4 separate regions of the Homo sapiens genome follow, and regions 2, 3 and 4 are each linked to region 1. Evidence: promoter capture Hi-C in 16 types of primary human blood cells and fetal thymus (Javierre and others, 2016). All regions are on one chromosome and are shown on one strand. Each heading gives the region's core, a stretch centred on a gene start or on the middle of the fragment in contact. The rest is flanking DNA. Distances are from core to core; before and after follow the strand shown.

Region 1 (6,166 bases), core at 386-2,885:
TCTCAAAAAAAAAAAAAAAAAAAAAAAAAGGGCACAAACTTGAATTTCTGTGCAGGTTTTGGTGGCAGTTGCAGAAGAGCTCAAAATCTGAATAAGTATCTGCTCTACACAGCTCTGGAAGCATGAGCAATGAAGTGAAAGCTAGAGAACAGAATGAACTAAGATAATGACTGGATCATAAAATGGGTAATCATGGGATAAGCTGGATAATTAAATACCCGTGTCAGTACACAGAACAAGGTCATCACTTAAATCTTAGATTACTTCATAACAAATTCTACAATTCACTAGAATTTTGATTCTTACCATAAAATAAACTGATGTTCTCAACTTTTATATGTTTAGACTCTTCTATTAAGATAATAATTCCAGTAAGAGTTTAACAGAATTTCATTCATTCAACTCTGGCTTCCTCAATTACAAATACTCCCAAACCTTCTTCGCTTTCAAACCCCATTCTCAGTGCCTAGTAACTTCTTTACCACTTTTCACATCACAGCTTCAAGGTGGAGGAAAAGCCCCTACTTCTATTATTTTTCAATATGGCTGCTGGCTGTAACTGAGCAGCAGTGGCCACAATGAGACACCAAAAAGCACTAGGACGGGGGATATTGTCAGTGTTTAGCCAGATGTTCTAGGAATATCTTCCCTATTTTAGAATCTCCATTTTGAACAGCTTTCATGTTAGGTGAGAATCGATACTGTTCTCCCAAACTGTGGCAAACCACTAAAAGGCATTTCATGCAAAAAGACACGTTCCATTTTTGCTTTCCCACGCTTACCAAGTCGTTCGCGACTAGTACTCAACCCTCCCTAACTGCCACAGGATTTGGGCTCGGATTTTCTTAACAAGTTCCACCATGCTTTTTATTATTATTTTGGAAGGGGGAGATTCTGGACGTGACAGAGAACCCAAGAGTGGGGTGGTTGTGTGAAAAGCCAACAGACGTCTCAGAAGAGCCAAGCATTACACTCCAGACTCTAACCAGGCAGTGTGAGGCCTCGGTTCAGCGAGGATCCCTCCAAGTGAGAGGACCCCTCCAAGTGAGAGGACCCCAAGCTTCAAAAAGGGGCGGAGCAAGATCACCAAGGGGGGTCCTCAGAGGCCTCTAATGCGGTAGGACCTCAGGTTCCAGGCTCTCGCCGCACTGCCCCATCCTCCACCGCCGCATTCGCTTCGACTCCCCATTCCACCCACCCCACCCCACCCTACCCTGTCCTTCCCCCACCTCTCAACCACTCCAGTGACAGCTCAAGCGCTTGGCTCCCGCCGCCAAGTCGCAACCCCGCGTATCTCAATAAGCAGCTCTGTGATTGGCCCCTTAGCCTCACAGCGAAACCAACACTTCCCCCAACAGTGGGCCGCCGTCACGCCGATCAACTCTAAGACCCGCCCCCCGGCTTCCTTTCGTGGTACCCGGTCCCAGGAACGCCCTGAAATGAAACCCTTTACTCCGCGCCTCGACCATCCTCGGGCCTGCCAGCCAGATCCGCGCCTCTCTAGCTTCCCTGAGGAAGGCGCTGGCGAGACCCAACCTTTTTCACTTCAAAGCGCTTCTTGCCCGCGCCGCTGTTGGTGCCGCTCGGGGTATCCACATCCATCGCTGCCGCCATTTTGGAAACACACGGTCTGTCGTCCGACCACCGCGCCTGCGCAGCAGCGCACACTTCGCTCCCCCCACCTCCCCGGCACCTCCTCCCGCACCCCACCCCTTACTGGCGCGCGAGGCGGAGGTGGGGGCGGAGCACGTGACCACGCCTCTTAAAGGGGCTGTCGCAGGTCGCCCCACCCGCGAACTGTAGGCCGGGGAGGGGGCGGTGGCCGGAGTGGGTGGGGCGGGGCCGGGCGGGGCCGGGCGGGGCCGAGGCTACGTGAGCTAGCCGGGTGGAAACGTTCGAAAGGGCTCGACGTCGCCGCCTCCTCTGGGAAGCCCCCGGCCGCACTCCGTCAGCTGGGGCGGCGGCTGCTTCCTCCGCCTGAGCCAGACCTGCGCCGCAGTCCTGTCCTGCCTGCCGGGCTCGCCGAGTCGCCGCGCGGCTCCCGGTGCTGGCGTGGGTGGGCGCCCGCGGCCTGCCCCGAAACCCAAGAGTCCTCGCTGGTCTTTCGCAGACTCTGACCCGCTTCCGAGCCAGGCCCAAGGTGCAGTCCCCGTGGGAGGGCTGGGGCCCAGGCACCGTCTGGTCTCCGATTTCTGTTCGGGAACTGCTCAGGGATTCGATGGGGAGAGAGGAGACCCCCGAAGTTCCTCCCTAAGGCCACACTGAGCAGGCCCCCAGCCCTGCCTTTACTCGCCCGCCAAGCCTGGGGGGTGGCCTCTGCGCCCACATAGTCGCAGTCCTAGGACCGCCTTTGGTCGTGGTGCACGGTTTCACCGTAACGTGTGTCAGTCCCCACTCCGCATTCCTCAGTTGTCATCTTTGTAGGGTGATTTCTCCCCGATCTGTGTCCTTTTTCCGCTGCTTGTGCTGTAGTGAAACCGACCCATCTGCAGTCGCTGTATTTCTTGAATTTTTGTGAGGCATTCTTTTTTAACTCTTGTTGCCCAGGCTGGAGTGTAATGGCGCGATTTCGGCCCACTGCAACCTCCGCCTCCAGGATTCAAGCGATTCTCCTGCCTCAGCCTCCCGAGTAGCTGAGATTACAGGCGCCCGCCACCACGCCCGGCTAATTTTTTGTATTTTTAGTAGAAACGGGGTTTCACCACGTTAGCCAGGCTGGTCCCGAACTCCTGACCTCAGGTGATCCGCCTGCCTCGGCCTCCCAAAGTGCTAGAGCCGCTTTTTTTTTTTTTCTTTTTTAATTTTTTTAAAAAATAGAGACAAGGTCTCACTATGTTGCCTAGGCTGGTCTCGAACTCCTGGGCCCAAGTGATCCTCCCACTTCGGCCTCCCAAAGTGCTGGGATCACAGGAGTGAGCCATCCCACCCGACCCAAGCACCTGTACTTTGTCACTCTCCCATTTCTGGCTAGACCAGGACTCCCTTTGACATCTCTAACCTTGCAGAGGTGTGACTCTGCCAGAGCACTCTTAGATGTCGTACAGGTGCATTTGAAGCCTTGTATTTTCTCTTAAAAGATAACTGGCGGGTAATGGAGCGTGCTGACTCTATTGCTAAAGAGAAAGAATAGGCTGGGCGCGGTGGCTCACGCCTGGGAGCCACTTTGGGAGGCCGAGGCAGGTGGATTACCTGAGGTCAGGAGTTTGAGACCAGCCTGGCCAACATGACGAAACCCCGTCCCTACTAAAAATACAAAAATTAGCTGGGTGTGGTGGCACGCGCCTGTAGTCCCAGCTACTCAGGAGGCTGAGGCAGGAGAATCTCTTGAACCCGGGAGGTGGAGGTGGCAGTGAGCCGAGATCGAGCCACTCTACTCCAGCCTGGGTGACAGAGCGAGACTCCGTTCCCCCCCAAAAAAAATAATAAAAGAGAAAGAACTGAGATTTGTTTGTTAGTTATAAACAGCAACAACAGATCCGGGAAAAGACCACCACAGCTTTATCCAGACTTGGAAAGAAAAATTGTGTGAGACCTTAAAGGGCTACAAGAACCCTACAAAGTTTTTCTTAGCCCAAGTTTTAATGACTTTGTTAAAATTTCTGTTGTTAATTTGTTGTGTGCCTACAGGCCCTGACAGGAATACTAGAAACCCATTGTAAATTAAGGTCTTGAAGACATATTTATCAATCATTCAATAAAAGTATTGATATTTACCAGGTTCTGTTTTAAACAGAAGAGACATAATAACAGAGTCAAATAAACCCCTAGTTAGGGAATAATATGCAAGTCAACAAATAAATACATCAAGAAGTCTCAGGGCCAGTCGAGGTGGCTCTAGCCTGTAATCCCAGCACTTTGGGAGGCCGAGGTGGGAGAATCACCTAAGGTCAGGAGTTAGAGACCAGCCTGGCCAACATGGTGAAACCCTGTCTCTACTAAAAATACAAAAAAATTAGCCGGGCGTGGTGGCGGGTACCTGTAGTCCCAGCTACTCAGGAGGCTGAGGCAGGAGAATGGATTGAACCCGGGAGGTGGAGGTAGCAGTGAGCCAAGATCGTGCCTCCAGCCTGGGCAACAAAGTGAGAGTTTATCTCAAAAAAAAAAAAAAAAGTTTCACGTATCCGCCAGGCGGGGTGGCTTAGGTCTGTAATCCCAGCACTTTGGGAGGCCAAGGCAGCCGGATCACTTGAGTCCAGGAATTCCAGACCAGCCTGGCCAACATGGTGAAACGTCTCTACAAAAAATACAAAAGTAAGCTAGGCGTGGTGGCACATGCCTTTAGTCCCAGCTACTCTGGAGGCTGAGGGGGGAGGATTACCTGAGCCCATACATGGAGGTTGCAGTGAGCTGAGATGGCGCCACTGCATACCAGCCTGGGTGACAGAGCGAGACCCTATCTCATAATAAATTAGTAAAAAATGCTGCATTGAAAAAAGTCTCTGGCCGGGCATGGTGGCTCATGCCTGTAATCCCAGCACTTTGGGAGGCCGAGGTGGGTGGATTACCTGAGGTCAGGAGTTCAAGACCAGCCCAGCCAACATGGCAAAACCCCATCTCTACTCAAAATACAAAATTTAGCCGGGTGTGGTGGCTTGCACCTGTAATCCCAGCTACTTGGGAGGCTGAGGCAGGAGAATTGCTTGAACCCGGGACGTGACAGTTGCAGTGAGCCAAGATTGTGCCATTGCACTCCAGCCTGAGTGACAGAGTGAAACTCTGTCTCAAAAAAAAAAAAACAGTCTCAGGTATCAATAAGTGTTGTGAAGAAAACAAGGTAATGAGATTGAGGGGAGAAGGAGGCAACAGTAAATTGGGTGATTAAATAAGACTTCTGTGAAGAGTGACATTTAAGCTGAAGTCCTTTAAATGGTCCTACATGATCTACTTCCCCATCCAATTTACATGTACCTTCTAACATATTTTTTCTAAGTTGGGCATGTGGTCCCAGCTACTCAGGAAGCTAAGGAGGTGGGAGAATCCCTTGAACCTGGGAATTCGAGGCTGCAGTGAGCTGAAATTGCACCACTGCACTCCAGCCTGAGTGACAGAGCAAGACCCTATCTCCTAACAAACAAACATATTTTGACATTTACTTGTGTATTAGGATTATTGTTTTTTGTATGTCCTCAGCAAGAAAAGGGAATTTTGATTTGTTTATTGGTAACAAAAACTGGTACATTGTATGTGCTCATTATGTGTTGAGTAAATAAATTTGGAGCTTACTGAGCAAGCAGAAAGTAGTAAGAGATGTCAGAGAGGCAGGCAGGGGCCAGAGCATGCAGGGATTTTATTACAGATCTTATGGGAAGGCATTGAAGGTTATTATTTTTTTTCTTTTGTATGGTCTTGCTCTCTTGCCCAGGCTGGAGTGCAGTGGTGTAATCTCAGCTCACTGCAGCCTCCAACTCCTGGATTCAAGCGATTCTCCTTCTGCAGCCTCTCCTGTAGCTGGGATTATAGGCACCCGCCACCAACGCCTGGGTAAGTTTTTGTATTTTTAGTTCAGGTATCCTCCAGGAAGGGTGGCTTGCGCCTGTAATCCCAGCACTTTGGAAGGCCAAAGCGGGCAGATCACTTGAGGTCAGGAGTTCAAGACCAGCCTGACCAACATGGTGAAACCTCATCTCTACCAAAAATATAAAAAATTAGCCAGGTGTCGTGGTTCGCGCCTGTAATCCCAGCTACTTGGGAGGCTGAGGCAGGAGAATCGCTTGAACCCAGGAGGCAGAGGTTGCAGTGAGCTGAGATCGTGCCACTGCACTCCAACCTGGGCAACAGAGAAAGACTCTGTCTCAAAAAAAAAAAAAAAGAACAAAAGTCTTAGAACTGAAAAATGCAAATAACTGAATTTAAAAACTCTCAGTGGATGGGATCAATAACAGAATGGAAGTGACATTTTTCCCAACAGAAGCTGGGAGGAAAAAAAGACATGGAAGTGACAGAAGAAAAAAAAATAACTGAACTGGAGGATAGAACAGTAGAAATAAGGCTGGGCGTGGTGGCTCACACCTCTAATCCCAGCACTTTGGGAAGCTGAGGCAGGTGGATTGTCTGAGCTCGGGAGTTCGAGACCAGCCTGGGCAACATGGTGAAACCCTGTCCCTACTAAAAGTACAAAAAATTAGCCAGGTGTGGTGGTGCGTGCCTGTATTCCCAGCTACTCAGG
Region 2 (4,710 bases), core at 1,404-3,903, 200 kb before region 1:
GTCACAAAGTCAGTGAAGACAGACTCGGTCAATTAGAAGCAGAATCCAAAGGCTTCTAAAAATTTATGAAGAGACTTTGCCAAATAAGAGTCCATGGGACCAGGCACGGTGGAGGCTGAGGTGGGCAGATCACTTTGAGGTCAGAAGTTTCAGCCTGGCCAACATGGTGAAACCTCGTCTCTACTAAAAATATAAAAAATTAGTCGGACATGGTGGCATGCTAGTCTCAGCTACTCAGGAGGCTTGAGGCAAGAGAACTGCTTGAACTCGGGAGGCAGATGTTGCAGTGAGCCGAGATGGCGCCACTGCACTCCAGCCTAGGCAACAGAATGAGGCCCCATCTCAAAAAAAAAAAAAAAAAAAAAAAGAGTGCACAAGATACTCGTGTTAAGAGGGAGATGCAGTCAAGCAAGAACAGAAAAGTCTTTCTTCATGACATCAGTATTTAACAAGTCAGAAACTAGACTAGATCAGGTATTGTCTTATACTACAAGGAGTCAGGGGCACAGAAGAGAAGACTCCTTCGTTCAAATGCTTGGTATTTTAGAGCCAAAGAAAAAGAGACATGTACTATTTTAATGACAAATGTTAGGTTTAAGTTTAAAAGAAGAGAGAACAAAAATGGTATTGCTAAAATAATAGACTTAGTTGATCAAATTAAGTTCAAATGTGTTCTCAATGATATTTCCCAAAAAGTCCGGAAAAATTTGTTGGTGTGTCCCAAATGGAATCAAACAGTTCTTTGAGAAGCCAGTGATTTAAAAAGCTTTCAATTTCAGCAAGGGCCTTATTTTTTCTTAATTGGCAAAAAAAATTTCATCATCGGTAGAGTATATTTGTTACTTCAGATAATTTTCACCTCTGGGGGGTTGCCATGGAGTGGGGGGAAACCAGACTACGAAGATGCTTGTCACTCATATTTAGCTGTGCTAAAAATAAGGACTATTTGAATAAACTTGTGAAATTAGACATTTTATTTTATTTATTTGTTTGAGACAATTACTCTCTGTCACTCAGGCTGGAGTGCAGTGGCGCCATCTTGGCTCACTGCAACCTCCTTCCATCTCCCGGGTTCAAGTGATTCTTCTGCCTCAGCCTCCCAAGTAGATGGGACTACGGGTGAGAGCCACCACACCCGGCTAACTTTTGTACTTTTAGTAGAGACAGAGTTTCACCATATTGGCCAGGCTGGTCTTGAACTCCTGACCTCAAGTGATCTGCCCGCTCGGCCTCCCAAAGCGGTGGGATTACAGGCATGAGGGAACACACATTTTAAAGAGAGATTGCCAATAGTAAGACTGGGTTTGTTACAGCCCATATTAAAACACCTCAATATATACAAGTCTTATTTTTAAAATGAAAATAATTTTTTAATCCCAACATTTTACAACACATTGTATTAATGGAACACTTTTCAATATATATCATCTGTAAGAGCCAGCAGACTCACTCCTCAGGTATGTCCTACCTGGTGCCTTTTGCAGATCACTAGAGCCACAAAAGTTCTAGTCCTAAAATAGTCAATTAACACTTGTTGGAATGGCTGGATTTGAGCACTCTGCCTCAGACTGCCTGGGTCTGCTTCCTGGCCCAGGCAGTAGGGTCAGCTGAGTAACCTGTGGAAAGTTACTTAACTTTGCTAAGCTTCAGGCCAATAACCTCAGAGCTGTTGTGAAATTATTAAATGAGGCCGGGTGTGGTAGCTCATGCCTGTAATCCCAGCACTTTGGGAGCTCGAAGCGGGTGGATCACCAGGTCAAGAGATCGAGACCATCCTGGCCAACACGGTGAAATCCTGTCTCTACTAAAAATACAAAAATTAGACGGGCATGGTGGCATGCGCATGCAGTCCCAGATACTCGGGAGGCTGAGGCAGGAGAATCGCTTGAACCTGGGAGGTGGAGGTTGCAGTGAGCTCAGATCCCGCCACTGCACTCCAGCCTGAACAACAAAAGTGAGAATCCGATTCCAAACAAAAAAGAAAAGAAAAAGAAAGAAAGAAATTATTAAATGAGACAATGTGGATACTTAGCACACAGCAGGTGAATGACAAATGCTATTACTATTGCTATTCTTTCCTGCATTTTAGTCAAGGCTATTTACAAACATTTCTCTCTCCTGAAAAATGAGACAATTTTTAGGGTGTACTAACACAGGGAACCCTGAAGAAATGAGGGGAATGACTTAACTCATTGGTTGCTGCAAGTGAATATTAAAAAAAAAAAAAAGAAAGAAAAATTATTAGTAACAATGAAGAGACCAGGCCCAGGGCTTCCAGGTTAATGAAATCACAATAATGGCAACTTCTGAGGCCCAAGAGGCATGACCGCAATTCTGCCCTGGGTCTTTGGTTTCTTCAGCTACCTCCAGAACGAATGGCTTCAGAGACTCACTCTTTTTCTTTGACTGTCCTGGAGCCGGAGATGACTGGGTAGCTGAAGTACTTGGCTGGTCTTCCTCCTCTTTTATTTCAGTTTTTAACTCAGTGCTTCTCTCTTCTGTTTCGGTAGATTCCATTTTACAGTCTTCCACTTTAGACTAAAAGAAAACGTAAGAATTTTTAGTATTCCAAAGATATCTAGTTGGGAATCAGTAATCTGAACACCCTTTCTCATGCAAAATCTATGCCATGAGATCTAATTATCAAAATATTTTTCTGCAATATTTTTTAAAACTTGGGTTCCTATACTGAGGTCCTAACCAAATCAAACAGTAATTGCCCTACTCTCACCTCTGAAATATCCTCCGGCTGAGTATCTGCTGGTTCTGGTTGATCCACTTCCATTTTGGCCTCCATCTTCACTTCCTGGGAAGGCTGCTTCTCAGCAATGGCCTGAGAATTCACTTCTGTGCTACTAGTAGATGGAGGATTTGATACCTGTCCTTCAATGCTTACAGCTGGCTGGGAAAGCTGGGCAGAAAAAAAAGGGAAGTAGGTGAGACACACGCAGAGTCTGCCAACGATACAATCAGAATGTAAGGTAAGCAACAGGATAGCAGAATTAGCCACCTATTTCTTGGCTTATATTTATTCATGGTGCTTTCATTTGCTCTGCCCATTTCACCTCCCTTAATTATGCTTAAGAACAGGAGAATTAAGACTTGTAAATACTGGTTGGCTGATTGTACATCAAAGAACCAGCAACTATTTCATTGATAACTATCATTATCTGGCAGTGTGTGGGGATTTCAAAGATGTCTGCTTCAGAGGAGCTCACATTTATACAGAAATGAGTGAAAGAAAATAAGAAAGACTGGCTTGTTTTTACCTTCTCACCAGAGAAAGTTTCAAAGGTACAGAAAAGGAGACAATAAATATAATGATGTCCCAGAGAGTGGCTGTTTTGAATCGCTAGATTCTAATGAGATAAACTGGCATTCCCTATCTTTATCCTAAGGCTTGTCATAAGAAATCTCTTAATGAGAAGTCAGTATTTTCTGGAAGTATCCTTGATTTTATAAAGAATAAAATCAAGCAGATCCACTGGTTCCTCTCTCATTCTGTCCTTCCTTGTCTATCAGAGGCCACGATGAACCAGCCATCCGTCAAGTACAGTACTTTATAAAACGGCTGTGACTCATGGAACTTCTCAGTTCATCAACATGGCTGAGAACTATTGGATACCGATATATATTAATATCGGTATCAAAGTAGAAGCTTCTAAACCCTTAAAAAAAGTTCTATTAATAAGGATTCAACTATTAGATGAGAATTTGGATTTTTATTATATACATAACCAACCTCTCACAAGGAAGCTACAGGTTGTTCTGGGTCTATAATTCTCTCATCTTATTTTTAAACTTTGGTTTGGGCCACAAGGACTCATAAATCTGCAATTTTTTTTTTTTTTTTTAGACGGAGTTTCACTCTGTCGCCTAGGCTAGAGTGCAGTGGCGCAATCTCGGATCACTGCAACCTCCACCTCCCAGGTTCAAGCCATTCTCCTGCCTCAGTCTCCCGAGTAGCTGGGATTACAGGCACCCGCTACCATGTCTGGCTAATTTTTGTTATTTTTTTGTAGAGACAGGGTTTCACCATGTTGGCCAGGCTGGTCTTGAACTCCTGACCTCAAGTGATCTGCCTGCCACAGCCTCCCAAAGTGCTAGGATGAAAAGTGTACACCACCGCGCCCGTCCAAATCTGCAATTTTTAAATTCAATCTCTAGGTTTTATGGCTCAAACTGTTTGAAAAAGATTCCTTAAATATATGTAAAATTTATGTGCTGCACTAAATAATATACTAAATAAGGAGAAGGATTGTGTCCCCTTGTCGTACCCCTTTACGTACCTTCAGACCTCAGGGTACAACATGAAACATAATGGTCAAAGTCAGAGCTAAATAAAATCTTTATGCTCCTGCTACGATAGGTACTATCACAGGAAGGCAAAACAGGATACAAAAGTCCCTAATGAAAAATAGATTACATTCTACTTGTGGAGAAAACAGTAAGAGATAAAGCAAAAGAGAATGGAAATGGCCCAGAAGTAATATAATACTACAGTATAGCTCTAATGATTCTGCCTAAATCCAAATCTCTACTTACTGGAGTTGCAGGCTGCGGAGGAAGCAGCGGTGCTGTTGGGGTAGGAACAGACGCTGCTGTGCTCTGCTGTGAGCGAGGCTGCTGCTGGGGCTGGTCAGCAGAAGGTGCAGCAGGAAGTGAAGGCTGCACTTGTTGGGGAAGTTGTGTTGTTGGTGGTGTAGGTGT
Region 3 (6,292 bases), core at 3,429-5,928, 140 kb before region 1:
TTCAAGATTTACAACTTAAAAGTCACTTTATCTCACTATCAACCAGAGACAACCTTCTTGAAGTCCTATAAATGAACTTACAAGGCCTTGAGAATAATTGCCAGAAAAACTTAAAGCACTTTAGTAAAATGTTTTGCAATTTAATACTGAGGAGAGAAATGCCTCACTAAATCAGGAGCTATATCTGCAAGACTCCAGAAGCAAACTCTTATGTAAACATTCAAGCCAAAATAAAATAAAACATAGCATATCACAAGTTACAGAGCTGGAAAATAAATGGTCTTGATCAAAATGTTTTGGTTAGGATGACGAACCACTAACACAATGGCATTTTAAGAAAATAGAGCTGACAGCCGGGCATGGTGGCTCACGCCTGTATTCCCAGCACTTTGGGAGGCTGAGGCGGGTGGATCACCTGAGGTCAGGAGTTCGAGACCAGCCTGGCCAAAATGGTGAAATACTGTCTCCACTAAAAAATACAAAACTTAGCTGGGCATGGTTGTGGACACCTGCAATCCCAGCTACTGAGGAGGGTGAAGCAGAGAATCGCTTGAACCTGGGAGGTTGAGATTGCAGTGAGCCAAGATCGAGCTACTGCACTCCAGCCTGGGCAACGAGAGCAAACCTCTGTCTCAAAAAAAAAAAAAAAAAAAAAAAGTAGAGCTGACATTTTAAAAAGCCTTACCACTTCTCCACTGTGTACATTAATCTACTGGTCAAAAAGCAGGTATACTTTACACACTATCTGCCCTGTGTCTTTGAAATGGGGGAAAAACTCAAAAAACAAAAAAGCACAAAACCCAGGGCCACAAAACTGTACCAAGACCAGAAGGATCTTTACCCTACTTAATTATATGCCAGATCCTAAAATCCTATCTTTCCAGGTGCTTTTTAAGTGCATACGGCATTAAGCGTTTACCAAGCAGTGACAAAACGTGTTCACTGAGTAATGAAGACAACAGATGACCCTCATCATTTCCATCACTCAAGATGATCAGAAACAGCTCCAAAAGATATTTCCAGGATTTGCCTAACATTAACTTTTCCAGTCTTTTGGTCATTTTTACAAAAAAAGTTTACAAGTGGCTTTCATAATCTTTTTTTTTTGGAGGGAGAGGGAGAACAAAATGTCATTTCTCAAATGATTTGTTTTACCCTAACCATACCAAATGAAATAAAAATTTCAATGGATCAAATGCAAATACTGAAACAGGAACATAAAGGTGTGAAGGCTACAAATAAGTCTTCTCTTCCCCATCCCAACACGTAAAAGTTGAGTTTAACCTAAGTTATTTGAATCAACCTGGAAATTTTTTAGGAGAATATCTGAGTATTAAACAGCAATTCAGAGGTTGAGATTTAAGTAATAATTTGATTTGTAACACTTTAGCATGTCATCCCATTGGATTCCAGTTTTCTTTCCTTTAAAGCTGACATTAGAACGCTCTTGGTGGATATATTTACATCACGAAATTTGCAAGCCTAAATCACTTTTTTTAAAAAAGTTTTAGGTGCTAGAATTTCGGGCTTATTTCAACCAGTTCTAGACAAAAACCATAATATCAAGAAATAATTTTCTTTCACATTTATAAAATACCCAAGTGACAACTCAAAAATCAAAAGTTACAAGTTTGAAACTTAAAAGTTTTAAGAGGTGATGTGCCTCCAATAAAAGTTACCTGCAAACATATTACAAACTGCAGAATGTCAAAAAAAAAAAATTCAAGATATAATGGTACCTCTGGCCGGGCGGCTCATACCTGTAACCCCAGCACTTCGGGAGGCCAAGGTGGGTGGATCACTTGAGGGCAGGAGATCGAGACCAGCCTGACCAATATGGTGAAATCCTGTCTCAACTAAAAATACAAAAATCAGCCAGGCGTGGTGGTCTGCGCCTGTAGTCCTAGCTACTAGGGAGGCTGAGACAGAACTGCTTTAACCCAGGAGGCAGAGGTTGTAGTGAGATCGCACCACTGCACTCCAGCCTGGGTGACAGAATGAGACTCCATCTCAAAAAAAAAAAAAAAAAAAAAAAAATTACAATGGTACCCAACTTGAAGTAAGTTAACAGAGGGACAGTATTTTCTTTATACTCACTTCTCCCCTCCCCCAAACCCAGACTGGTTACAATTAAAAACCGTACACCAAAGAATTCCTGGAGTAGAATCTTGATTTGGGGAGGGGGGTAAAGTTAACCCTCATTACAAAATTTAGAAAAGTAACTAAGATAAACTCTTAGCATTATGAGTGAATGAATTAATCTCAATGTTGAGTTTTTTTTTAAACTATAAAAGCCCACTTAACACATTTAAAACTCTTGTAATTATTCAAAGATATTTCAAGTAGCAAAACAGACCGACATGGAGAAAGTAGTAGCACACCTGAACAGAAGTATTTAAACAATACAGCTCCAAGACGAAACTGCTCAAATCAGGACTACTCAAAGTACACAAAAAAGTTTCCCCTACGTTCCAAGTCACTGGCTAACTCCAATGTAAAATCGACTACCACGTTACACCAAAACTAAAAAGCAAAAACTACCACATTACACAAATACGAAAGAAACACCACAAAAATCTACAGGTGATTAAGTCTCTAAAGATGATCTAAAAAATGTTTCTGAATGGCACTTTAGTAGGTGCAAAGGAATACAACGACGTTTGTGTATGTGTATGAATTCTGAAGGAAAAAACCAGCTAAAAAAATCCCTGGAGACTACAGTACCTTCATAGAATAGGTACAGATCAAAGTTCATGCATAATCAATGTTACAAGCCTTAGGTAGAGGAACTCGCAAGATTCCTACTTCTCAATTTTTGCAGGTTAACTTAAATTCATTTCACATCTTTCTTATAAAAGCAACGAATTCAAAGCATTAGCTCTGTCTTCCCATTTTCACCCTCTGAAATGAAGCCTATTTAGAAACATGCTCTCGAAGTTCTCTACAAACTCAAAGGGTACATTTAACTCCATTATGCACTCTCACTGGCAGATGGAGGGATGACGCTGAGCCTGCTCTCAGGGAGTTAAAGAGATGCTCCGTAGTAAAGGGGAACATCTTGTGGACTGTCAGATGGCCAGCCATTCTTCATCTTCATTATCCCAGCAAAGAAAAGGTCCTTACCCATCAGGATAACACCATTAAACTAACTGTAAGAAAAGAATGAAGGGATGATGGAAGAAGTCTCCCTGAACTTCTCCTGACAAAGGAGCTAGTCCACAACTGAATGAACTGGTCGTAAAGCTTTTAAACGAAAATCTTGATCTCCAAGTATGTTTAAAAGTGTAAAAAGACAAAGACACACACAAACACCAAACCTAATGCACATTTTAAACTTTTGTACAATCAGTTCACGTTTGTAGTTCATGATTGGAACTCTTTCAACTTCTAACCTTGATTTCCAGGTACGTAACTCCACAAAATTGTTTATCTTATTTCCCCTAAAATGAGAAAGTGACTGCAAACTGCAAAGAACATGCCCCTGTTCTCCCAACCTAAAAACCCAGAGTTTCAGACATTTTGGTCTCACACCAAAGAACTGGGAGATGTGAAATGAACTGCGCTCCATATTGATTCTTAAAGCAAATAAGAAGAAAAAGGAAAAAAAAGCTAAGAATGGTAGGTAAGATAAAAGAATTGTTAAACTTCACCTCTAACCTGAAATCTTGGACCTCGCACACACAAAATCAAGATTTTTTTACACCCTATTCCTCAACAGAAAATATTCTGCAAAGGAGAGAAAATTTCGAAGAGTGGAAAGTAGAGGAAACACAGTAAGTACAGTAAAGAGAAAGGATTCGAAATTCATTTGCCAAGAACAAAAAAAATGAAACTTAAATTGCATAGGAGCTCTTACACACAAATGCATTGGCATTTCCCAAATTAAATTGCATGAGAGCAACAATACAGGCCATTTCTATATAGCACCCACTTACGAGCTCTAATTCCAGAACACACACCGATATGACATAGTGTTGCAATCAATGTATTAGGAGGCAAAGAAAATGGTTGGGCTACTGGACGTCTTCGACCAGCTCATTCAAATACCTTTAAAATTAATTAAGGGGCAGGGAACTAGAGAGAGAGGAAGAAAAAAAAAATGGAAGAATAAAGGCGCACCGAGTAGAAAAGATTAAAGGGAACGTGGAAGGCCGGGGCTGCCGAAACTAACCTGTGCCATCGCTGGCGGACGCCGAGAGGGCCGGAGATGAGAGTTTAGGCCGCTTGGCTGAAGGCGGCCCCGGTTCCACCACATTCTCGGCCATTTTTAATTCTTTCGGAGATACAAGCGAGGAAAACCAGAATCCTCAGGAAATCTCTTCTTCGGCCCGGGGTCCCCGCGCCGCACCCAGGGGTGGGCTGGGGGGCTCCGACGGCACCCGAGGGGGTGGGGGAAGTTCCTTTTTCTCTTCGCCGGGTCGCAGTGGCTGGAGAGGGATGCGGACTCGATAGAAAAGGTAAGGGCAAGTGCGAGGGGCCGGGCCTGGGCCCAAGCCCGGAGGAGGGCACAAGAGCACAAATTCGCCGAGCGCGTCCGCTGCGGCGAATTCCCGAGAACTCGCGGCTCTAGAGGCGCAGTCCCCGGCCCGCCACGGCCGGCCCCTGCCCAGCCGAGGTCTCTCGGAGCTCCGCCGCCGCCATCAACCTCTTCCTCCTCGGCGCTGTCCTCCTCCTTCTCATCGCCACAAGGAGGCGGGGGCGAAAAGGGGGGAGAGGAGGAGGCGACAAGAGACACTCACCTCCTCCCGGTGCCCCCTCCCGGGCCTGCGCCCCCACCCTCCGAACCCTCCTCCTGCCGCCGCGCTCCGCGCCGCCGCCGCCGCACCGGCCCCTAATGGCCGCAGAGAACTCGCCCGAGCCGAGAGCCAGGCTGGCGCCGCCGCCTCACATCGCGCGGCGGCCGGCGGAGGCGCGGCAAGGACGCCGGGAGCGGAGCTGGCCGGACCAGAGGGCCGAGGGGGCCGGGCCGAGCAGCGCCGCCCGCACGCCCGCGCCGACGCGGAGCCCACCGAGGAGGCCCCGCTCCGGCGGCGGCGCAGGCGGCCCCTCCTCGCGCCGCGCTCCCCTCCTTCGCCTTCCTTTCCCGCGGAAAATAAATAAATACGGCCGCTGCTACGGCCCCCACCGCCGGCGGCCAGGTGCTGGGAGCGCCCGCCCCCCGGGGCTCCGTTCGGGGCCGCCCGCGGCGGCGGGAGAAGACGCCGCGGGGCGCGGGGTTATGTAATGGTCCCCCCTAGGCGTCGACGCCGGCCCGGCTGCTGGACCGCGGTGGGGGTGTGTGCGGACGGGAGGGGGCTGGGGGTCGCCTCAGCCCGTGCGCCCCGGGCCCCCTGCCACTGTCTCGGCCCCTGCCGCCTCTCTCCGACCCGACTCCCCTCCGCACTCTCTGGCTCCCGCAGTTAGCACTCAGCCCGGCGTCCTGCTTGCCCACTCTCGCCCGCTCTCTCTCGCCCTCTCTCCCCCCCAGCCTAGCACACAAACAAGATGGCGGCTGTTGTTTCTTCCCTCTGCCGAATCCTCCTTACAGGCTAGCGGTAGCGGCGGCGGCCGGAAATGAGCCAAGGGGGGGTGGAAAAGGGGAGTGGCCGGGCCTCCGGAGGGGGGCGGGGCCTAGGCCCGAGCCGCTCACACAATGGGGGAAGTGGAGCCGGGGGCGGGGCCTGTCCCAATCACGGGATCCGCCCTAGGCCCCAACGCGGTTAGCGCTTCCGCAAACTCCCCCGGCGTCACCCTGTGGCTCCCTTTAAAGGGGAGGATTTTAAGAGTGGGGAGGATTTTAAGGGGGGAGGGGCGGGGGCGGACTCAGAATCTATTTTCAGTCGGTGGATAGTTACGAGGGAAGGTTCCTGCCTTTGGTCTCTGCGTAAGGGACCAGTGGGAACCGGGACGACGGAACCCCGGAGCTGCTCCGAGGAAGGCGCCAAGTCGCCACTCAGGTGGCCAAATGGGAGCGCCCGTAGGGCGGCCCTGCTCTTCGGCCCTTGGGTGGCGGGTCCCCCAAAACCCCGGTCGAATTCACCAGGCAGGGTGTACCCACTGCCGGCTGTTCCGGGCCAGATACCCAGTGCGTCCTCACTTCTCCATTGCCCTCCCAAAGGGAGCAGTTCACATCCAAAAAGCACGTTGATTACGAGTTGTTTTCATTTTCTCTGAATTTTCCTTTTCCTTTTTATGTATTATTTATTTATTTATTTTACAACGAGCATTATTACTCTGACCAGAAAACAAAATCACAGCAGTGGAAAGATGTTTCGGCACCAGACCCAAATTCATTTCTTGCCCTCCACGTGTG
Region 4 (6,639 bases), core at 3,966-6,465, 220 kb before region 1:
CATGTTCAAAGGTTGACCATGCTGGGCCACTGACATCATGGCTGGCCTTGGCATCCCAGACTGTAGTTGCTGGGGCTGAGGCAATCCTCCTTGGCTCCAGGGTGGCTGTTGCTGCATCCCTGTCGGTCCCATCCCTGGCTCCAAATGCCCACTGGGACCTCTGGTCATGGGAGGTGGGTTCATACCCATGGGGGCCATGGGAGTCATCGGGGGCATCTGGTGTTGGATTGGCCTTTGAAAAATTTGCACGTGGGCCATCTGGCGCTGCGTCTCCGCTGCTCTCTGAATCTGCATTGCCATTTCCACTGCTGCAGGTGGGGGCCCTGGAAGGGGTGGCTGAGCAGTCTGAGGAGGGGTTGGAGGGGTCACCTGGCCTGCTGCCTTACCCTGGGACACAGGGCCAGCAGCTTGAGTCCTGGGCAAGTAGGGTGGCATGCTATTGGGAGGGGTAGGCTGAGGCTGAGAAGTGGGCTGGGGCGTCTGCGGGGTGGTTGGCTGTTGGCCAGTTGGTGTCGTTGGAGTGGCAGGAGTGGGGGAAGGGAGGCCCTGTTGCTGCCCAACCACACCAGTCCGCTGCATGCTGGCCATCCTCCTGCGAAGCATTTGGGCCTGCTGTAGTCGGTGCTGCAGCTGTTGCTGCCGGAGCTTCTGCTTGATGTTTAGGCAGAACGGCACCGGGCATTTGTTCTCCTGGCAGTGCTTGGCATGGTAGCAGCAGAGGGCAATGAGCTGCTTGCAGATGGGGCACCCGCCATTGGTTTTCCGTTTGCAACCCTTGGTATGCTGCACAACCCGCTTCATCTTCTGGCAGGATGGCAGTGAGCAATTGGCATTCCGACACTGGCAAGCATGGACCAGAGACTGGATGCAGCGCTGGATACTCAGGCGGCGAGAATCGCCTGGGCTCTGGGTGGCTGCAGCCTGCTGGTTGTTGCTCTCATCATCTAAGCCAAGGCCTAGTTTCTCCATTTTGTGGTCATGGTTTTTAGTGTTATAGCAGGTGATACACAAGTCATAATCCTAGGGAAAAAACAGGAGGTGCACGTAAACTCTCCAAGATTTAAGTCATTCAAAAGTATTTTAGATATTGTTTGGGCTAGAAAAGCCCCTTTCGTAGAACAAAAACTAGCCTCTTCAGCTCTGCCCCTCAAACACGAGGCCAAGCCCCTAGCATCCCACAGGCCTCTATAAAATACGTGGCTGCATGGCCCCTCAGAACAACCCTGCGGAGCTCACCTCCTCCTTCCCACAACCCGGTGCCTACCTCACAGACAGTACAGTGCCAGCGTGTCTCCACATGGTGCTTGCATTCATTGCAGGTGTAGACAAAGCGGTCCTGGCTCTGCGTGTGCAGCTCCACCAGCATGCACATGGTGGACCACTGGGCTCTTCGGAGTGAAGAGAACTCCAGGTGCTTGTCCCTTGCCAGCGTGAGAAACGCATCCCGACCATCCATCAGATCGCAGGGGATGAGAGGATCAGGATCAACAATGGGAGGCAGGGAGTTGGCAGCAGGGCCAGCAATGAGGCGGATCACAAAGAAGACCTGAAAAACAGACAGTCTCTTTTTTTTGAGACAGGGCCTCGCTCTGTCATCCAGGCTGGAATGCAGTGGCGTGATCTTGGCTCACTACAACCTCTGCCTCCTGGGCTCAAGCAATTATCCCACCATGGCCTCCTGAATAGCTGAGACCACAGGCCCACACCACCACACCTGGCTAATTTCTGCATTTTTTGTAGAGACGAGGCTTCGCCATGTTGCCCAGGCTGGTCTCAAACTCCTAAGCTCAAGTGATCTGCCTGCCTCAGCCTCCCAGAGTGCTGGGATTACAGGTGTGAGCAGGTACAGCAGGCTGAGCACCAATGAGACTGGCGAATGCTGAGTTAGTTTCACCACCATACGCCTCCTGTTCCTTTTCCTGCTTTACCTCTTTGGTCTCTTGAGACTGACTATAAATAGAACTGAAATGCACATCCTGTGATTTTTTTCTCCTTCATTCAGTAACTCCTTCAGAGTAACAATGGTCTGGGTGAGGTATAGCACCATGCACAGTGGACATTTTGCCTCAAGGCAGTCTACTTTAAGATGCAATCCATGGTTTAACCTCAATCTAATTACAACAAACCAGACAAATCCAAATATGGAGACAGTATGAAAAACAACTGGCCTGGACTCATGAAGGTCCCCTATGCAACTTTCCTGTGTAACTTTTCCTACAGGTTTGGAAGGGAATGGAATGGATAAAAAATCTTAGTCTTTGTTGACAAAGCAATAAAATTCTTGTTCATTGAAGTTTGAAAAAACTTGTAACAACCATCAATTCTCATAACCATTAGTGTAAAAGGTATAAAAAGCTGGTATTACATATGTATTTGACATTAATTAGTATATAACTATAAACACCTATTAAAGTAATAAAATGTAAAACATCCCCTTAAGAAATTAGGAACTTGTGAGAAACTGCTGTACTGATAACAGATTATTCAACATCTGTGCACACTGGCAGCCACACTCACAGTCTCTGGCCAGCAATGTTCGCTGCTTCTGTCACCCTACAACCAGGCCAATACTTGGATTTACAACCTAAATTTAAACAGCCATGGAATGTGTCCACAATTTAAGTCAAACCTATTACAATATATTCTAAGGGCTTTTCCCAACTGCCTAGGATTCTGTGGCATTACTTACTGCTTGAAATAGCTAGTAACTATTAATTGTTAATAATCATTACCTAACGTATTAGAACTCAGGAATCCTTCCATTTCACTAGCATGGCTGAGATAATGGTTATTACCATTATTACATCGTAGCCCATTATTCTAGGCTAACAAAAAAGGGGTGGTGATGGGGGGAGCAGTGGGGGAAAAGATACTTTGAACACCTATGTATATAGGTGTTCACCATGATAACATCATTATAACAAATTCCTCTCTAAAAAAGATTTTGTTAACTATTTCTCTCCCAAAGAGACTGTTTAACCAATTTTTAGGTACGGAATTACAACCTGAAATCAAGCCTTCATTTCCCTCTCAACTTAATTACCACTTCCTATAAGAACTTGATTATATGTCTGAGAACCGAGATAGTAAAATGAGGAGTCTGACTGAACAATCGAGATTACTACCATTGGACAAACCCTGAGAGGAATTACTCTTCAATTCTCCTGGCTTTCGTTATCAATTATATGATATTAAAGAGAGAAAAAAAAAACCTTACCCAGTTATTTTCCCAAATGACTGCAAGAACAACTAAACAATGTAAATGATGAAATAACTCAAAAAGTTTTGAGAAGGGGGTTGTAAGTCCATATGTGGAAGTTTAACTTTTCTCCAATTCTATTTACTAATTCACTTTCAGAAAGGTTAAATCTTTTTATTTTTTGAAACAGAGTCTCGTTCTGTCACCCAGGCTGTAAGTGCACTGCAACCTCTGCCTCCCAGGTTCAAGTGATCCTCCCACCCCAGCATCCCAAGGATTACAGGTGTGTGCCACCACGCCAGGCTAATTTTTGTATTTTTAGTAGAGACGGGGTTTCGGTTCGCCATGTTGGCCAGGCTGGTCTCCAACTCCTGACCTCAAGTGATCCGCCTGCCTCAACCTCCAAAGTGCTGGGATTACAGGCATGAGCCACCACGCCCAGCGAACAGTCAGTGTTTTTATTCATTTCTTATTTCTTTTTCTGAGGTGGAGTTTCGCTCTTGTTGCCCAGGCTGGAGTGCAATGGAGTGACCTCGGCTCACTGCAATCTCCGCTTCTCAGGTTCAAGCAATTCTCCTGCCTCAGCCTCCTGAGTAGCTGGGATTACAGGCATGTGCCACCATGCCCAGCTAATTTTGTATTTTTAGTAGAGCAAGGTTTCACCGTGTTGGTCAGGCTGGTCTTGAACTCCTGACCTCAGGTGATCCACCCGCCTTGGCCTCCCAAAGTGCTGGGATTACAGGTGTGAGCCACCATGCCTGGCCAGAAATCTTGCCGTTTTTCCCCAACTCTGGGTGGCTGCATCTTACCTCTTTATGCTTCTCCATGGTGGCATATAGTTTCTGTGAGAGGTCGTTAGATACATTGGGCATCCCGGGTTTCTTCTTGTTGCCCCTACTCAGGCTGCTCTTATTTTTGCTGGTTTTCTTATTATTCTTCTTTTTAGCATTTTTGCTGTCTCCCTTGGTCACCTGCAGAGTAGCACAAAGGAGACAAGAAAATAAGGTTTTTGTTAAGTAATTTGGGAATAGCACAGAATATCTCCCTTCTTTGAAACTAGATATCATAATCTTATGCCTGTAACTTATTTTACTAGCTGTTCTCTTCACTTATTCTTTCTCCTTAAAGTTGTTATTTGACCTAATTTTCTCCCAGTGATCTTTAAGGCAATGGCAGCCCTTTAGCTTTTTGCCTAGAAGAGGCCACAGAATGTGCAGACCCTGTAGATTGATTGAATGTATCCCAGATTGGGGCTAGGGAACAAGGAAGGGGTGGCACTTTGGGGTAGTGAAGAGTGTATCAAAGTGGGGAGCCAGAAGACCTTGGTTTTATTTCCTTCCACTCATATTCTAAAATGTTATGAGCCTACAAATACTAAATGACAAGGCTGTAAGAGTTTGTTAACAGACTATTTAAGGGTGCCTTTTGTTAAGTTAAATTCAATGGAGGTAATTCGAGATATGCTATGGGGAAATAACTGGTGAGGTTACTAAGCCAGGCTTAGTAACTTAAATTCTGGCTCAGGCCTATTTTGTATAGCTAAGAATGGTTTTTTACATTTAAAAAGAGTGTGTTTTTAAAAGACAGAAAATATGCCAGAGATATGTGACCCACAAGGCCTATAATATTCATAACCTAGTCCTTCAGATAAGTAATCTTCTATCAGTTTTTCAGGATTTCCTTCAGTTTCTTTTATCATTTCACATTACTCAAAGTCTGAGATGCCATTTTAAAAGGGGCTCTGATGCTTTAAAAGTTTAATACCACTGAAACAGAACCCTAATAACCTCTCTAAGCCAATATTTCTTGTCCAACTTAAAGAGCTCTTTTACACCTGAAAGCTTTAAAACCCAATTGAAAGTTTAAGTGCACTTCTGGATTAAATATTAGAATCATGATAGAAGTTTCAAAGGAAACTCAATGCCCTTACATCTGTGCTTTCATTGCTGGTGTTTTCCTCTCGTTTTCTCTCTTCTTCCTCCTGTTCCAGTTCCTTAATGCTTTCTTCCAGAACATTGGGCCAGAAATCACCCTCGAAATAAGGCAATTCCTTTGCACTTGTTAATCTATCTTCAGTAGCTTGTTTAAAAATATCCTGTGAAAACATGCATGTACATATAGGAATTTCTATGTTCTTTTAAAGCATTGATTATACAGAATAATCATGGCTGACAAGAAACATGAAAGCTTAAAATGTCTTGAAAGCTGGCAGAGACTTTATACCTAAGCCGTAAGCCAGGGAGTATTTAGAAAAATAAATAGTGAAAAGGCCTGGCCTAAAGTCAATATTTCCGGTTTTCTATTTCTTCTACCCACAAAAACAGGGAGCTTATCTGCCTTTATATAACCAAGTGGCAATTATCCTGCCAGGATCAACGTCAGGGTGGTAGCACCATCATGCATGCCATGGCCCCTACCACTCCTTATCACAGAATATGTGGTATGAAGCATGCCCTCCTCACACCCATCCTTGGAATTTCAGCAGCTTTTACTGACAGCTTTGTTCAAAATGACCAAAACTACAAATACTGGAAATAGTATCTGCTGCAGAATGATTTGCTGGGCTGCTTAGGAAAACTTCTTTATTTAGTTGAACTACTAAATTGAGGAAGACAAGTCTGTATCATGAGACAACCTATATTTATGAATAACATAATACTGTTAATTAAGAATATATTTTTGGCCAGGTGCAGTGACTCACACCTGTAATCCCAGCACTTTGGGAGGCCGAGGCAGGTGGATCACCTGAGGTCAGGAGTTCGAGACCAGCCTGACCAATGTGGAGAAACCCCGTCTCTACTAAAAATAGAAAAAATTAGCCTGGCTTGGTGGTGCATGCCTGTAATCCCAGCTACTCGGGAGGCTGAGGTAGGACCATCACTTGAACCCAGGAGACTGCACCATTGCACTCCAGCCTGAAACTCCGTCCAAAAAAAAAAAAGGGAGAATATATTTTTGGCTGGGTGATGTGGCTCATGCCTATAATCCTAGCACTTTGGGAGGCTGAGGTGGGCAGATCACTTGAGCTCAGGAGTTTGAGACCAGCCTGGGCAACATGGTGACATCCTGTCTCTACAAAAAATATACAAAAATCAGCTAGCTCTCGTAGTGTGCACCTAGTCCCAGCAACTCAGGAAGCTGAGATGGGAGGATGGCTTGAGCCTGGGAGGCACAGGTTGCAATGAGCGGGTATCATGCCACTGCACCCTAGCCTGGGTGACAGAGAGTGACCCTTTCTGAAAACAAAACACCCACACCCCTAAAACCCTAACCAACCCAAACCAAACCAACAAAAAACCAAAACAAAAAGATATATTTTAAGGCCGGGCACAGTGGCTCATGCCTGTAATCCCAGCACTTTGGAATGCTTGAGGCCAAGAGTTCAAGTCCAGCCTGGGCAGCATGGCGATACCCCAACTCTATCCCCACCCTCCCCCCAA

What was found. Contacts are between HindIII fragments. The CHiCAGO score rates a contact against its expected background, and 5 or more counts as called.
Region 2: a contact is called between a fragment that was not itself captured here and the fragment with the promoter of RBX1 in region 1, in 4 of 17 cell types (endothelial precursors, M2 macrophages, M1 macrophages and 1 more). The highest score is 6.3, in endothelial precursors.
Region 3: a contact is called between the fragment with the promoter of EP300 here and the fragment with the promoter of RBX1 in region 1, in 17 of 17 cell types (naive CD4 T cells, megakaryocytes, total CD8 T cells and 14 more). The highest score is 30.1, in naive CD4 T cells.
Region 4: a contact is called between a fragment that was not itself captured here and the fragment with the promoter of RBX1 in region 1, in 1 of 17 cell types (endothelial precursors). The highest score is 5.8, in endothelial precursors.

Annotation. Positions count from the first base shown.
Region 1 is chr22:40,946,847-40,953,012 of GRCh38, reverse strand. RBX1 (ring-box 1) reads right to left here and starts at 1,635. Exons shown (of 5, transcript NM_014248.4): 1 at 1,537-1,635. The coding sequence starts at 1,614. RefSeq lists enhancers at 315-903, 1,359-1,568, 2,083-2,673 and a silencer at 1,619-2,198. The HindIII fragment of the contact is 5,907 bases long and covers 1,063-6,166 here.
Region 2 is chr22:41,150,034-41,154,743 of GRCh38, reverse strand. It overlaps EP300 (EP300 lysine acetyltransferase), which reads right to left. Exons shown (of 31, transcript NM_001429.4): 14 at 4,546-4,710; 15 at 2,732-2,911; 16 at 2,394-2,538. Among named protein-coding and RNA genes, the nearest start is that of EP300-AS1, 45 kb to the left of the region's middle. RefSeq lists an enhancer at 2,166-3,365. The HindIII fragment of the contact is 2,014 bases long and covers 1,647-3,660 here.
Region 3 is chr22:41,090,978-41,097,269 of GRCh38, reverse strand. It overlaps EP300 (EP300 lysine acetyltransferase), which reads right to left and starts at 4,678. Exons shown (of 31, transcript NM_001429.4): 1 at 4,172-4,678. The coding sequence starts at 4,265. It overlaps MIR1281 (microRNA 1281), which reads right to left and starts at 4,757; the gene lies at 4,704-4,757. RefSeq lists an enhancer at 3,988-4,227 and silencers at 4,338-4,437, 4,618-5,387, 5,488-5,777. The HindIII fragment of the contact is 3,482 bases long and covers 3,246-6,292 here.
Region 4 is chr22:41,171,154-41,177,792 of GRCh38, reverse strand. It overlaps EP300 (EP300 lysine acetyltransferase), which reads right to left. Exons shown (of 31, transcript NM_001429.4): 28 at 5,130-5,294; 29 at 4,009-4,170; 30 at 1,265-1,546; 31 at 1-1,020. Among named protein-coding and RNA genes, the nearest start is that of EP300-AS1, 23 kb to the left of the region's middle. The HindIII fragment of the contact is 346 bases long and covers 5,043-5,388 here.